Linked DNA regions of Homo sapiens: region 1 is linked to region 2. The links are contacts of gene promoters, found by promoter capture Hi-C in blood cells and fetal thymus (Javierre and others, 2016). All regions are on one chromosome and are shown on one strand. Each heading gives the region's core, a stretch centred on a gene start or on the middle of the fragment in contact. The rest is flanking DNA. Distances are from core to core; before and after follow the strand shown.

Region 1 (7,168 bases), core at 2,718-5,217, 140 kb before region 2:
GGCGTGGCCGTGAGGGTAGGAAGGGAGTGGGGACGTCTTCCTCAGTCCTGGGGTGGCAAAGCCTGAGACGCTGAAGAGGCGCTCCAGGTGCCTAGCAAATCACTCAGAAGTGTTCCAGGAGCGGGGACAGCGTCCCTGAATGTCGTCTGCATCCCGCGTGCATCAGAATCACACCACGCACGTTTCTGGGCCCCACCGGGCCTGCTAGTCAGACGCTGGGGCCAGCACCCGTCGTCTGCATAGTTTCTAAGCTCTTGGATGTTTTGATGCTCAGACACACTGGGAATTCTGTTCCGGAGGAGAGACTGCTCCCTGTGAGGAAAGCCAGGGAGGGGATGGGTTTTTGTTGTTGTTGTTGAGACAAGGTCTTGCTCTGTTGCCCAGACTGAAGTGCAGTGGCGTGATCATAGCTCACTGCAGCCTCCAACTCCTGGGCTCAAGCGATCCTCCCACTTCAGCCTCCTGAGTAGCTGGGACTACAGGCATGCACCACCACACCTGGCTAATTTTATTTTTTTGTAGAGACAGGGTCTCACTACGTTGCCTAGGCTGATCTCAAACTCTTAGGCTCAATGATCCTTGGCCTTGACCTCCCAAAGAACTGGGATTACTGTGCCTGGCCCGGGGTGGGTTCTGAGCGGACTATCTTACCCGCAGCCAGCTGATTCAGTCCGCCCCGGTGTCCCAGAGAGCACCCCTCCATCACTCTCTGGGGGTGGCCTGGCATCTTTTGCAGCAGGGGAGGGATGCAGTTTCCACTGGGGCCCTCTGGAGATGAATGATGAAGAGGGCGCCTTGGCCGAGCCTGTCCCTGTCCTCTCTGGCAGCCTTGCCAACATTCCACTAACCCCCGAGACTCAGCGGGACCAGGAGCGGCGGATTCGGCGGGAGATCGCCAACAGCAACGAGCGGAGACGCATGCAGAGCATCAACGCGGGATTCCAGTCCCTCAAGACCCTCATCCCCCACACAGACGGAGAGAAGCTCAGCAAGGTGGGTGAGAGCAGGGAGGGCTTCCTGGAGGAGCCGGCAGGTTCCCGCTGGGAGAGGAAAGTGAGCTCTGGTAAACACTGCCAGCCTGACTCTCGGCTTTTCCACGCCCTCAGGCAGCCATTCTCCAGCAGACAGCCGAGTACATCTTCTCCCTGGAGCAGGAGAAGACCAGGCTCTTGCAGCAGAACACACAGCTCAAGCGCTTCATCCAGGTGCGCCCTGTCCTTCATGGCTCCCTCTCCCTGGCATGGGCATGCCTTGGACCCAGCCATGGGCCTGGGACTCAGGTGTGGCTGCAGGCCCCTTCTTGCCCACTGACAAGTACTTCCAGGCACTTTTTTTCCTGCCCCGGCCTCAGTTTCCCCATCGGTCAAGTGCGGTGGAGTGGGCTCTGGAAGGAGCCAGGTGACTGTTATGTAAAGCAGCCCATTCTCCTGGCATTTGGCTGGTTTGTTGGACTTGCAGAAGGGGCTCCCTAATGAAGATTCACCTGTGTTGGGCAGCTTTGGGGGGCTGCGATGGAACCCCAATCTCCGTGGTGGTACCGAGGTGTCAGGCACACTGACCGACTCCTTGGGGTCCCCAGGAGCTGAGCGGCTCGTCCCCCAAGCGACGGCGGGCAGAGGACAAGGACGAAGGCATAGGCTCCCCGGACATCTGGGAGGACGAGAAGGCGGAGGACCTGCGGCGGGAGATGATTGAGCTGCGGCAGCAGCTGGACAAGGAGCGCTCGGTGCGCATGATGCTGGAGGAGCAGGTGAGGCAGCGCCCTCTGCTGGGCACGGCGCGCGGTGCAGAGGGCGTGGAGCCTGGGGTCGCGCCTCTTGCTCTGCGGCCCTCGGTGGAGCCCTATTTACAGGAGCACCTACTGCGGTGCCAGGCCTAGGAGTGGGGAGCAAGCCAGACACGTCTCTGCCCTTGGGGGCCACCGTCTGCGTTGGGGTGGGGGAGATTAGCCAAAGGATCTCAAAAATGTAACCATGCTGTGGGAGGCCGAGGCGGGTGGATCACCTGAGGTCAGCAGATCGATACCATCCTGGCTAACACGGTGAAACCCCGTCTCTACTAAAAATACAAAAAAAAAAAAAATTAGCCGGGCGTGGTGGTGGGTGCCTGTAGTCCCCGCTGTTTGGGAGGCTGAGGCAGGAGAATGGCGTGAACCTGGGAGGCAGAGCTTGCAGTGAGCCGAGATCGTGCCACTGCACTCCAGTCTGGGAGACAGAGCGAGACTCCATCTCAAAAAAAAAAAAATGTAACCGTGATGGGCTGGGTATGGTGGCTCACACCTATAATCCCAGCACTTTGCGGGGCTGAGGTGGGAGGATCGCTTGAGCCCAGGAGTTTGAGATCAGCCTGGGAAGCATAGTGAGACTCTGTCTCTACCAAAAAAGATACAAAAATTAGCCAGGTGTGGTGGGGTGTGCCTGTAGTCCCGGTTACTCAGGAGGCTGAGCTGGGAGGATTGCTTGAGCCCAGGAGGTGGAGGCTGCAGTGAGCCATGATTGTGCCACTACACTGCAGCCTGAGTGACAGAAGGAGACCATGGCTCAAAAAAACCAAAAAACAAAAACAAAAAACCATATTGAAGGCCAGGCTGGAGCTGTGGCATCAGGAGGGGTTTTTCAAGGGACGCCCCACGGCATCTCCATGGAAGTGGGAAGTTGAGTCTCATAGTTAACCAAAGGACAGAGAAAGGTGTTCCCGGCAGAGGGAATAGCATAGGCAAAGACTCGGGCAGGAGGGAGCATGGTCCAGTGGAGGCCGAGGTGGGAGGCGAGAGGAGCCGGGGGCTGAAGGGCTCTGGAAAGGCTTCTGGCCTCTGTTGAGAGGGGCCCGCCCTGTGCTAGGGTTTTCAGCAGGAGTGAATGAGCTGCTGTGAGACTGACAGGGCAGGGTGTGCTCCCGGCCTTGGCCCTGAGCCCAGGTTGTCCTGCCTCCAGGTGCGCTCGCTGGAGGCCCACATGTACCCGGAAAAGCTCAAGGTGATTGCGCAGCAGGTGCAGCTGCAGCAGCAGCAGGAACAGGTGAGGCTGCTGCACCAGGAGAAGCTGGAGCGGGAACAGCAGCAGCTGCGGACCCAGGTGAGCAGGAGGCGCCCGGGAGTGGGCTCTGGGGACCGGGAAGGGGACAGGTGATCTTGAATGGCGGAAGCCTCTCCCTAGGCCACGTCCTCTCTGCTTCTTAATATAAAGGGGCAGAGGCAGTTATACATTGGCCAGCTCTGCATGAAAGGGAGGTGGATGGGCCAAGAGAAGCCTTGAGAGAAAGGCTGAGGGCCTCTGTCTTGCAGCTTCTGCCCCCTCCGGCCCCCACCCACCACCCCACGGTGATCGTGCCAGCACCGCCTCCTCCTCCCTCCCACCACATCAATGTCGTCACCATGGGCCCCTCCTCGGTCATCAACTCTGTTTCCACATCCCGGCAAAATCTGGACACCATCGTGCAGGTACCTGAGCTTGAGAAAGGGGCAGCTTGTGGGGGTCATACTCCGGGAACAGGCTCTTTAGGGGAGACTGGAAAAGAGGGGCAGAAGCGGAGGAAGATGGTGCTTGTGTGGGAAGGGGTGGAGGGCTGGAAGCCTTGGGGGGCCCCGTCCCTGGATCTGCAAGTGGAGAATGTGAGGGCCAGAGATCGGGGCAGGGCCTACCACGCCAGTAGGAGGAGTTGGCCAGGAAGACTGTCCCTTCCCTCAATATGGGGTTTCCGGAGAGGGTCCTTTGCTCCCAGAGCCCCCTGGTTACAGAGTTCCTGCATCCAGCTCTTGGGTTGGTCCGGAACATTGTCTCAGCTCCATCTCCTAGGACCTGGATGGAGATACAGGTGGCAGGGCTGGTGATAGTTGGGCCTCCTACAGAGGAGGAAGCTTTGTGGGTCAAGCCTGAAGTTACAGTTGCATTCACCCTTGAACAGGGCCCCTTGAGGAGCCCAAGATCAGAAATCAGTAAATAATAAATAAATAACCAAAAAAGCCAAAACAGGAAAAAAAATCCATCAATCTCCTCGAATTTTAATTGCTCATAAACTTTGCAAATTGTGTAATACAATTAATAACAAACGCCTTTAATAAGTTAATAGGCAAGCTTTAAAATACATAAACATATGGCCGGGTGTGGTGGCTCACACCTGCAATCCCAGCACTTTGGGAGGCCAAAGTGGGTGGATCACTTGAGGTCAGGAGTTCGAGACCAGCCTGGCCAACATGGTGAAAACCCCATCTCTATTAAAAATACAAAAATTAGCCTGACGTGGTGGTGCACGCCTGTAATCCCAGCTATTCGGGAGGCTGAGGCAGGAGAATCGCTTGAACATGGGAGGTGGAAGTTGCAGTGAGCTGAGATTGCACCACTGAACTCCAGCCTGGGTGACACGGTGAGACTCTTTCTCAAAAAACAAACAAACAAAAACATATGAAAGGTCCATATTATTTCTTTTTTTTTCTTTTTTTTTGAGATAGAGTTTCGCTCTTATTGCCCAGGCTGGAGTGCAATGGTGCTATCTCAGCTCATCGCAACCTCCTCCTCCCAGGTTCAAGTGATTCTCCTGCCTCAGCCTCCCAAGTAGCTGGGATTATAGGCATGTGCCACCACGCCTGGCAAATTTTGTATTTTTAGTAGGCTTCTGGCCTCTGTTGAGGGGCTGGTCTCGAACTCCTGACGTCAGGTGATCCTCCCGTCTTGGCCTCCCAAAGTGTTGGGATTACAGGCGTGAGCCACTGCGCCTGGCTGATACATATAATATAATTTCTAAGCAGCACTGGGACTGTCATCTTCCCAGAATGGATTTTTCAACTTAACAGAGGGGTTTTGAAAGTTTGTTCCTGGGTCAGGCGTGGTGGCTTATGCCTGTAATCCCGGGACTTTTGGAGGTTGAGGCAGGAAGATTGCCTGAGGTCAGGAGTTCGAGATCAGCTTGGGCAACATAGCAAGAACCCCCTCGTCTCTACCAAAAATACAGAAGTTAGCTGGGGATGGTGGCGCACCCCTGTGGTTCCAGCTACTAGGGAGGGAGCAGTAGGAGGATCGCTGGAGCCCAGGAGTCTGACTGCAGTAAGCTATGATCATGCCACTGCACTCTAGCCTGGGTGATATAGCGAGAGCTTGTCTCCAAAAAAAAAGTAAAAGGAGTTTGTTTTTCCTGTACTCTAGCGGGCCTCCCCTGCTGCTTTGCCAGGCTTTTTTCTGGGCTATGTGTTTTGGGGGTGACAGTGGCTGGCTGAGAGCCCCCACTGTCTCCTGGCTGGCCATGTATCCCCGGCCGAGCCTTCTCAGTGGTTCGTCCCTGTCCAGGCAATCCAGCACATCGAGGGCACCCAGGAAAAGCAGGAGCTGGAGGAGGAGCAGCGGCGAGCTGTCATCGTGAAGCCTGTCCGCAGCTGCCCGGAGGCCCCCACCTCTGACACCGCCTCCGACTCCGAGGCCTCAGACAGTGACGCCATGGACCAGAGCCGGGAGGAGCCGTCGGGGGACGGGGAGCTTCCCTGACTACCCCCCCAGCCCTCCTCTCCCTTCTGGGGGCTGGAGGGAGCCGGGGCAGCCACAGGGAGAGACATGGGCGAATGAGTGAGAAATTTTTACAAAATTACGATGTCATTTGGGTCTCTTTTATGACCTCTTTTTCAATACTGTAAATCGACCTTTGAACGAAGCCACTCAACCCGAGGTCCCGGGGCTGGGGTGTCGCAGAGCGTGTGGGAGCATCGGCACCCCAGGGCGGGGCCTCGGCCCCGGGGGCTGGAGGAAGCTGACACGGAGATGCCTGGCCTCTCTCTGCCAAAAAGCATTTTTTCCTTTAAATATGTTTTTTAAGAACAGGGAAAATTAAACAAAACCCCAGGTTATTTCTTCCCTGCCCAGAGCCAGCCTGGGATTGTCAGCCTTCAATCCCCTTTCCTTCCTCTTTTTGGGTTTTCTTCTTTCTCCTTTAAGCACTTACATGGTTGGGGGTAAGACTAGGCTGGGGCATTCTGGGGGCCCGGAGGTCTCCGTTGCTTCTTGGTTGGGGTTTGCTGCTGCTGTGCCCCCCTCCCCCTTCCCCATCTCGGCACTAGAATTCGCCACTCTCCCACCCCCCAGCCCCCACCTCTGCCTCCAGGTCTCATCTTCCACCCCAAAAATGTCTGTCTCTCTCTTTTTGTTTTGTTTGTTGTTGGTTTTTTATTTCTTTTTGGTTTGCTTTCTGTTTTTGTTTTGTTTTTCTTTTTTTTCTTTCTTTTTTTTTTTTTTTTACAATTTTGAGGTCTTCGTGTTCAAGGAGAAGCTATTATATTTTGTTAAGAAAGTGGGGAGAAAAAAACCAAGAGGCCACCGTGCCTTTGTAAAGAAACAAAATAAAGTTTGTACTTTGTTTTTTAGATTCTGAGTCTCCTGGGTGTGGGCTGGCCTGAAGACCAGGGCAGGGCTACCCCATCTAGAGTAGGGGGGCTCCTTGGGCCCCCCAAAGCGGACTGGGTGTGTGTGAGCACAGTTACTCCCTCAGCTTGTGTGTGGTGTTGCGATGAAAAATTGGGGTCCTCAGTTTCCCTGGGATGACCCTGGGTATTCTGTAAAGATGGAAGATGGTGTTGAGGCTGGGGAGTGGCTCTTTGGTGGGCGGCAAGGAGAGAAGGACAACCAAGCCACCGATTCCGAAAACCTGGGAAAGGACACAGGTGTTCAGGGGCCCTGCTTGGTCCCTACGCTTTGGTTAATCCCTAGGTTTTGCCACTTCCTGGGCTTCTGTAACTTCTCTGAGCCTCATCCTCTCCTCCCCTAGGAGGGGAACCCCACCCCCTCCAACCGCACCCCCCCAGCACCCCCCTGCCCCCCCGTGGTGTGGTGTTTAAGTGCTAAGATCCTGGAATTGGTCTGCCAGAGGTCAGTTCCCCCTCTGACAAACCGCTTCCTCTGAGCCTCAATTTCTTCTTCTAAAAATTGGCGATAATAACGGCACAAGGACATTGCATCCTATTGGGGATTGGCATGGTCCTTTATTTCGAGACAGAGTCTCTGTCTCCCAGTCTGGAGTGCAGTGGCGTGATCTCGGCTCACTGCATCCTCTATCTCCTGGGTTCAAGCAATCTTCTTGCCTCAGCCTCTCAAGTAGCTGGGACTACGGGAGTGCACCACCATGCCCAGCTAATTTTTGTATTTTTAGTAGAGACAGGGTTTCACCATGTTGACCAGGCTGGTCTTGAACT
Region 2 (6,820 bases), core at 730-3,229:
TGCTGGGATTACAGGTGTGAGCCACTGCACAGGGCCCAGCTTCCCCTAAAAATGTTAACGTCTTACCTAACCATAGTAAGAGGATCAGAACCAGGAAATTGCAGATCTTATGTGAATTTTGCCCGCTCTCCTGCTACTGTCCTTTCCTGTTCCATGTTCCCAACCAGCATCCCATGTTCCATTTAGTTGTTGTATCTATCCCCTTAGGGACGATTCCTAGATTGTGACAGTTTCTCAGTCTTTGTCTTTCAAGACCCAAAGTGTCCAAGGACACTTTTGATGGGTACTGGTTAATCACTTTGTAGAACAGGTCTCAATCTGGGTTTGTCTGGTGTTTTCTTGCGATTGGATTGAGATTACACACTTCTGCAGGAATACCACCACAATATGTTGCTTTTAGTTTTTTCCTCCTTTATTGTGGTAAAATACACTCAACATAACATTTACCATTTAAACCACTTTATTTTATTTTATTATTATTTTTTGAGATGGAGTTTCACTCTTGTTGCCCAGGCTGGAGTGTAATGGTGCGAACTCAGCTCACCACAACCTCCGCCTCCCGGGTTCAAGCAATTCTCCTGCCTCGGCCTCTCGAGTAGCTGGGATTACAGGCATGTGCCACCACGTCCGGCTAATTTTTGTATTTTTAGTAGAGATGGGGTTTCTCCGTGTTGGTCAGGCTGGTCTCGAACTCCCGACCTCAGGTGATCCGCCCACCTCGGCCTCCCAAAGTGCTGGGATTACAGGCGTGAGCCACCGCTCCCGGCCTAAACCACTTTAAAGTGTATGATTCAAGGGCAGTATGTAGATTCATCCTGTTGGATCATTTCTAGACTTTTTCATCATCCTAAAACGAAACCCCAAGCTGCTTATCTTCCTCCCCTAGCACCTGGCAACCTCCAATCTGTGTCGCCTCTACGGATTTGCCAATTCGAGACATTTCATCTGGATGGAATCATACGCTATGTGGCCTTTTTTGTTTGGCTTCTTTCACTAGCATAACGTTTCCCGGGTTCCTCCACACTGCAGCATGCATCGGTGCTCCATTCCTTTTTGTAGCCGAATAATATTCCATTGCATGGACAGATCACATTTTACTTTTATTTTCTAATTCAACAGTGAGACCTGGTGTGGGCCCCGGCGCTGGGCCTGGGAGGCGAGGGAGGGGATGGAAGAGAGCCCCGTGACTGGCAGGAGGCACTGTGGAGTGTGGGGAGAAGGGGTCGGGATCTGCATGCTAGAGAGAATAGGATTTTATTTACACGTGGCAATGTTTATGGAGGCCAATGCACAACTGCCATTATGGGACGCGGACTCCTTTGAAAGTCTCATTTGTGTAAAAGGAAAAGCAGTAGTTCATGAGGAGGGGGAGAAGGGCTCAAGGACAGCAAGGTAAACTACCCCTGGGGCGGGGGAACGTGGTCGTCGGTGGGCCCAGCTTTGGAGGCTAGGCCCGTGAAGGTCGCCCCGTGAGCAGGTCCAGGGCAGGCCGAGTGCCCCGGGGCCCGCATTCATTGCTTACAGAGCAAGGGGAGCCTCCCGGGAGGGAAATCCAACGGTTGGAAACTTCGATTTATCCCAAAGGCGTGCCGAGTGGGAAGGCAACATTTTGATTTCCCAAACGTTGCGGCCAGCGGCTTCTTCCACGGCAGGCGCCTTCAGGTCTCTCCGCAGGGTCGGGACCCCGGGCGGCGCGCGGCCTCTGGGACGCCGAGGGAGGGCGGGCCCACAGCGCCCGGAGCGCGGACAGCGGCCACAGCCCGCCGCCTAGAAGCGGCGCCGCCCGGGGCGGGGGGCGGAGCCGAGCGCGCGCCCCGCCCCGCCCCGCCCCGCCCCGCAGCCCCAGCCCAGCGCGCGCACCAAGGCGGGGCGGCGCGCGGCCCGTGCGCGTGTCCGGGGCCAGGAGGCGGTGGCGGCGAGCGCGGGCCGCGCGTGCGCGCTGCGGCTGGGCGAGGGGCGGCGCGGGCGCGCGTCTGTCAGTGACAGCGGGCGGGGCAGGGGCCGGAGATGGTGGCGGCGGCAGCTCTTCCGACATGAGGCAGCGGCCGCGGGGGACACGGCGGCGGGCGCGGCGGCGGCCGCATCTCTAGCTCGGGGAGGCGGCCCCCGGCGTGGGCGCGGGCGGGCGGGCGTCCCGGCCGGCGTCGCGGGAGCCCGGCTCTGCGGCAGCGTCTGCACCGCCGCCCGGCGAGGGGCCCGCGTCCGTGGTTCCACGCGCTCGGTCCCGGGACAGCTGCGGCCGCGGCGGGAGCGGCGGCGCACTCGGGGGGAAGCAGGCCCCACTAGACGGGCCGCGCCGACGGGCTCCGCGCACTCGCAGCCCGGGGCGCCCCCACCCCCAGCGCCCGCCGCCGCGGGCAGGGCCGGCCCGGAGCGCGGGGGGCGGCCGGGGAGCGCGAGCCGGGGGCGCCCGCCGAAGCTCGCTGCTCCGGGTCGGGGTCCGGGCCCGGGGCCGGCCGCGCGCCGCCTTTGACGCATCGGAGCGCGGCTCCTGCAGGATGGAGGGCTCCGCGCCGCCAGCGGAGTTGTTTGTGCGCAGGCGGCTCGCGGGGCTGGGAGCGCTCAAGGTCTGAACTTCCCTCCGGAGCCGCAGCTGGAGGAGGCGAGCGCGCGAGGAGGAGAAGCCGCGCGGCGCGGAGGCCACCCTCGGGGCGAGAGGCGCGGAAGGCGAGCGAGCAAAGCGGTCCCGGAGCCACGGCGGCCACGCGGCGGGGACCCCCGGGCGTTCTAGGTCCGTCCCGAGCGGTTCTCGTGCGCCTCGAAGGTGGGGGCGGTGGGGGCGGTGGGAGCACCGCTGAGCCGGGAACCACAGGAACAGATGGTGCCTGTCCAGGTCGCGTGCTGGAGCCGCCCCTTAGGACAGGAGCAGGTCCCGGGCCTCTAGGCGTGCATGCCTAGGTGGGAGCGCCGCTAACTCTCCCCGTTTTGCTGGCAGGTACTGGTGACCCCGGCCGGGGCAGGCCCCGGGACTCGACAACATGGCTTCCCCACCCCACCAGCAGCTGCTGCATCACCACAGCACCGAGGTGAGCTGCGACTCCAGCGGGGACAGCAACAGCGTGCGCGTCAAGATCAACCCCAAGCAGCTGTCCTCCAACAGCCACCCCAAGCACTGCAAATACAGCATCTCCTCTAGCTGCAGCAGCTCTGGGGACTCCGGGGGCGTCCCCCGGCGAGTGGGCGGCGGAGGCCGGCTGCGCAGGCAGAAGAAGCTGCCCCAGCTGTTCGAGAGGGCCTCCAGCCGCTGGTGGGACCCCAAGTTCGACTCGGTGAACCTGGAGGAGGCCTGCCTGGAGCGCTGCTTCCCGCAGACCCAGCGCCGGTTCCGGTATGCGCTCTTCTACATCGGCTTCGCCTGCCTTCTGTGGAGCATCTATTTTGCGGTCCACATGAGATCCAGACTGATCGTCATGGTCGCCCCCGCGCTGTGCTTCCTCCTGGTGTGTGTGGGCTTCTTTCTGTTTACCTTCACCAAGCTGTACGCCCGGCATTACGCGTGGACCTCGCTGGCTCTCACCCTGCTGGTGTTCGCCCTGACCCTGGCTGCGCAGTTCCAGGTCTTGACGCCTGTCTCAGGACGCGGCGACAGCTCCAACCTTACGGCCACAGCCCGGCCCACAGATACTTGCTTATCTCAAGTGGGGAGCTTCTCCATGTGCATCGAAGTGCTCTTTTTGCTCTATACCGTCATGCACTTACCTTTGTACCTGAGTTTGTGTCTGGGGGTGGCCTACTCTGTCCTTTTCGAGACCTTTGGCTACCATTTCCGGGATGAAGCCTGCTTCCCCTCGCCCGGAGCCGGGGCCCTGCACTGGGAGCTGCTGAGCAGGGGGCTGCTCCACGGCTGCATCCACGCCATCGGGGTCCACCTGTTCGTCATGTCCCAGGTGAGGTCCAGGAGCACCTTCCTCAAGGTGGGGCAATCCATTATGCACGGGAAGGACCTGGAAGTGGAAAAAGCCCTCAAAGAGAGGATGATTCATTCCGTGATGCCAAGAATCATAGCCGATGACTTAATGAAGCAGGGAGATGAGGAGAGTGAGAATTCTGTCAAGAGGCATGCCACCTCGAGCCCCAAGAACAGGAAGAAAAAGTCTTCCATCCAAAAAGCTCCTATAGCCTTCCGCCCTTTTAAGATGCAGCAGATCGAAGAAGTCAGTATTTTATTTGCAGATATCGTGGGCTTCACCAAGATGAGTGCCAACAAGTCTGCCCACGCCCTGGTGGGTCTCCTGAACGATCTGTTCGGTCGCTTCGACCGCCTGTGTGAGGAGACCAAGTGTGAGAAAATCAGCACCCTGGGAGACTGTTACTACTGCGTGGCGGGCTGTCCCGAGCCCCGGGCCGACCATGCCTACTGCTGCATCGAGATGGGCCTGGGCATGATCAAGGCCATCGAGCAGTTCTGCCAGGAGAAGAAGGAGATGGTGAACATGAGAGTCGGGGTGCACACGGGCACCGTCCTTTGCGGCATCCTGGGCATGAGGAGGTTTAAATTTGACGTGTGGTCCAACGATGTGAACCTGGCCAATCTCATGGAGCAGCTGGGAGTGGCCGGCAAAGTTCACATTTCTGAGGCCACCGCAAAATACTTAGATGACCGGTACGAAATGGAAGATGGGAAAGTTATTGAACGGCTGGGCCAGAGCGTGGTTGCTGACCAGTTGAAAGGTATGTGCACTGCTTTACCTCGGCATCCCCCCTCCCTGATCCTGATTGTATTAAATTAAAAAAAAAAGCTTCCAGCCTCAGTGTCTGCAGACAGCTCAGGTATCTCAGAATGCCTTACCATGGGGGGATCTCAGGGTCAGTGTGACTTTTCTTTCAGCGGGTCAAATATCACAGATCTGTTCACACTGCAGAAAGGGACGCTGTGCAGAGATGACCTAGACGCGACCTTTAGAAGGAAGGAGAACTTTGAACGTGCATAACCACTGGTTGGCTGAAATGTGGGGGCACGTCCGGTGAATGTAAGGGTATGGAGCCCTTCAGCATTCAGCACTGTTTAGCACTTAAGGAAATTGCCTTTGCATTCATTTGGTCACCCTGAAGTCCCATCCAAATGTTTCTCTCTGCCCTTTTTGCGAAAACGTGGAGAATAAAATCTTTCTCCTCTCTAGGCCTCACTTTGCTTATCCTCAAAATAGGGATAGGAAGTCGGCGCAGTCCTGCAGGTCTCTGGAGAATTAGACGGAGTTACTTACCTCTGAGTACACACTGTCTTTTATCTAGGTCTTTTTTTTTTTTTAAAAAAAGTTTGCATTTTCAGCTTTCAGCCATCATTTGTTTAAGGATATTTTATTATCATAGTATTTGCCTTAAGTGAAGAGCTTCATATTGAGCTTCTCCAGCCACCAGGTGATTTGGAAGGGAGAAACGTACCTGCCGGAGAGCTGGTATTCCCCTCCCTCATCCTCTCAGGTTTGGATCTGGTGCCTGGTCCCTGGTTTGAAGCTCCTTACTGCTATTCTTGATGTTTTTACTGGGCTGCTTGTTTTTTCTAATATAGGACAAAAGTCTTTGAGATCTGGAAAATGATATTAAAATAAGTAGGACGAAAAAGAAAGATTTTAAGTAATCTGCTACATTTCTTCCCCCACTTCCTCCTTTTTAAACAGTCCTTATGTTTTACTAAAATCTTCAGGATTGAGGGGAACATCTGTTGTGGAAGTATGTAGAGAAAATAACACTGATTTTTTTTAAAAGCCTGCTTTTGTGAAGCTGTATTGTATTTTGTGGTCCCCACACACTGCATACTTAAACAGTTAAAAGCCTCAGGAAAGGGAATCCTCGGAAGAAGTAATTAATAGTTCCAATCAGAGATGGCAGAAGTAATAGTTTCAATCAGAGACGGCAGAAGTAATAGTGTCAGTCAGAGACGTCCAGTGGTTGAGGTAGGGCCTGCATAGGTCGTTGGTGTGAGATCATCCTATGTGTCCAGTTGGCATTCTCTTTCTCTGGCTTGTGATCTGAGCTCCTGTATCTTTTATGTATTTGTTCTCTGGCAAGGGAACATCATCTTTCTTCTGATTTTTCTTTATTTTACTAACTTTGCTGTTGAAGATTTTATGGATGTAGACGAAAACTATTTTCACCCGAGAATTCCCCTAACCTAGAGCACTTTAAGGACTATGTTAACAAGGTCAGAAACTACACTTTCTGTTCACTTGAAAGATGCTGCCGTGATGAGTGTCTTTCCGTTTAGGGCGGTGGCACTCGCTCTTGAGTCTGAAGGTGTCAGTGGACGGGGCTGTGGGTGTAACCCCCTGCTTGCCACCTTGGCATTTTTAGGGCCCAGGTGTTGTGAGCTCTGTCCTTGGAGACTGTGGGACGGTGGAGCTGGGCGGCAGTACGTTAAATTAAATATGTTGGCCCAGAGGACAATGAGAACGTTTTGTAAGCTGTACTTTGTATGCTGTATTACTCGAATTTCAAAAATGAAGAGGGTGTAATTATTAAATATGTTTGGAAATTGCCAAGTCATTGAATACCTATTTTGTGAATTTATGAGTAGTTTTATTTTTAAGTTTGTAGATCAGGGGTCTCAGACACAGAGCCAAAAAAAAAAAATGCTAGAGTGAGTTTGTGTTTTTTTTTTTTTAAACCTCAAATAGTGTAAATTTGGTAAATTAACTTTTCTTGACATTTGTGTACATTGTATATTTATAAAAGTTTTAGTACTGTAGGGAGTAGGGAAGATAGAAGGCTTAGCTTAGCTGCTGATTTTTTAAAAGTGATATTCTTTCCTTTAGCTCTTTCTCTGAGACCACGATTTTGTTTTCTTGAGCTCATTTTACAAACCTTTGTGGATAGGACTCCA

The links. The method cuts DNA at HindIII sites, captures the fragments that hold promoters and counts their contacts. A CHiCAGO score of 5 or more calls a contact.
Region 1: a fragment that was not itself captured here is called in contact with the fragment with the promoter of ADCY9 in region 2 in 5 of 17 cell types (M1 macrophages, M0 macrophages, M2 macrophages and 2 more); the score reaches 11.2 in M1 macrophages.

Annotation. Positions count from the first base shown.
Region 1 is chr16:4,256,361-4,263,528 of GRCh38, reverse strand. TFAP4 (transcription factor AP-4) reads left to right here. Exons shown (of 7, transcript NM_003223.3): 2 at 828-993; 3 at 1,107-1,205; 4 at 1,580-1,750; 5 at 2,934-3,074; 6 at 3,284-3,439; 7 at 5,280-6,343. The coding sequence ends at 5,474. Among named protein-coding and RNA genes, the nearest start is that of LINC01569, 6.2 kb to the right of the region's middle. The HindIII fragment of the contact is 217 bases long and covers 3,859-4,075 here.
Region 2 is chr16:4,111,601-4,118,420 of GRCh38, reverse strand. It overlaps ADCY9 (adenylate cyclase 9), which reads left to right and starts at 1,979. Exons shown (of 11, transcript NM_001116.4): 1 at 1,979-2,731; 2 at 2,936-4,671. The coding sequence starts at 2,979. RefSeq lists silencers at 1,772-1,841, 4,835-5,045. The HindIII fragment of the contact is 5,610 bases long and covers 1-4,741 here.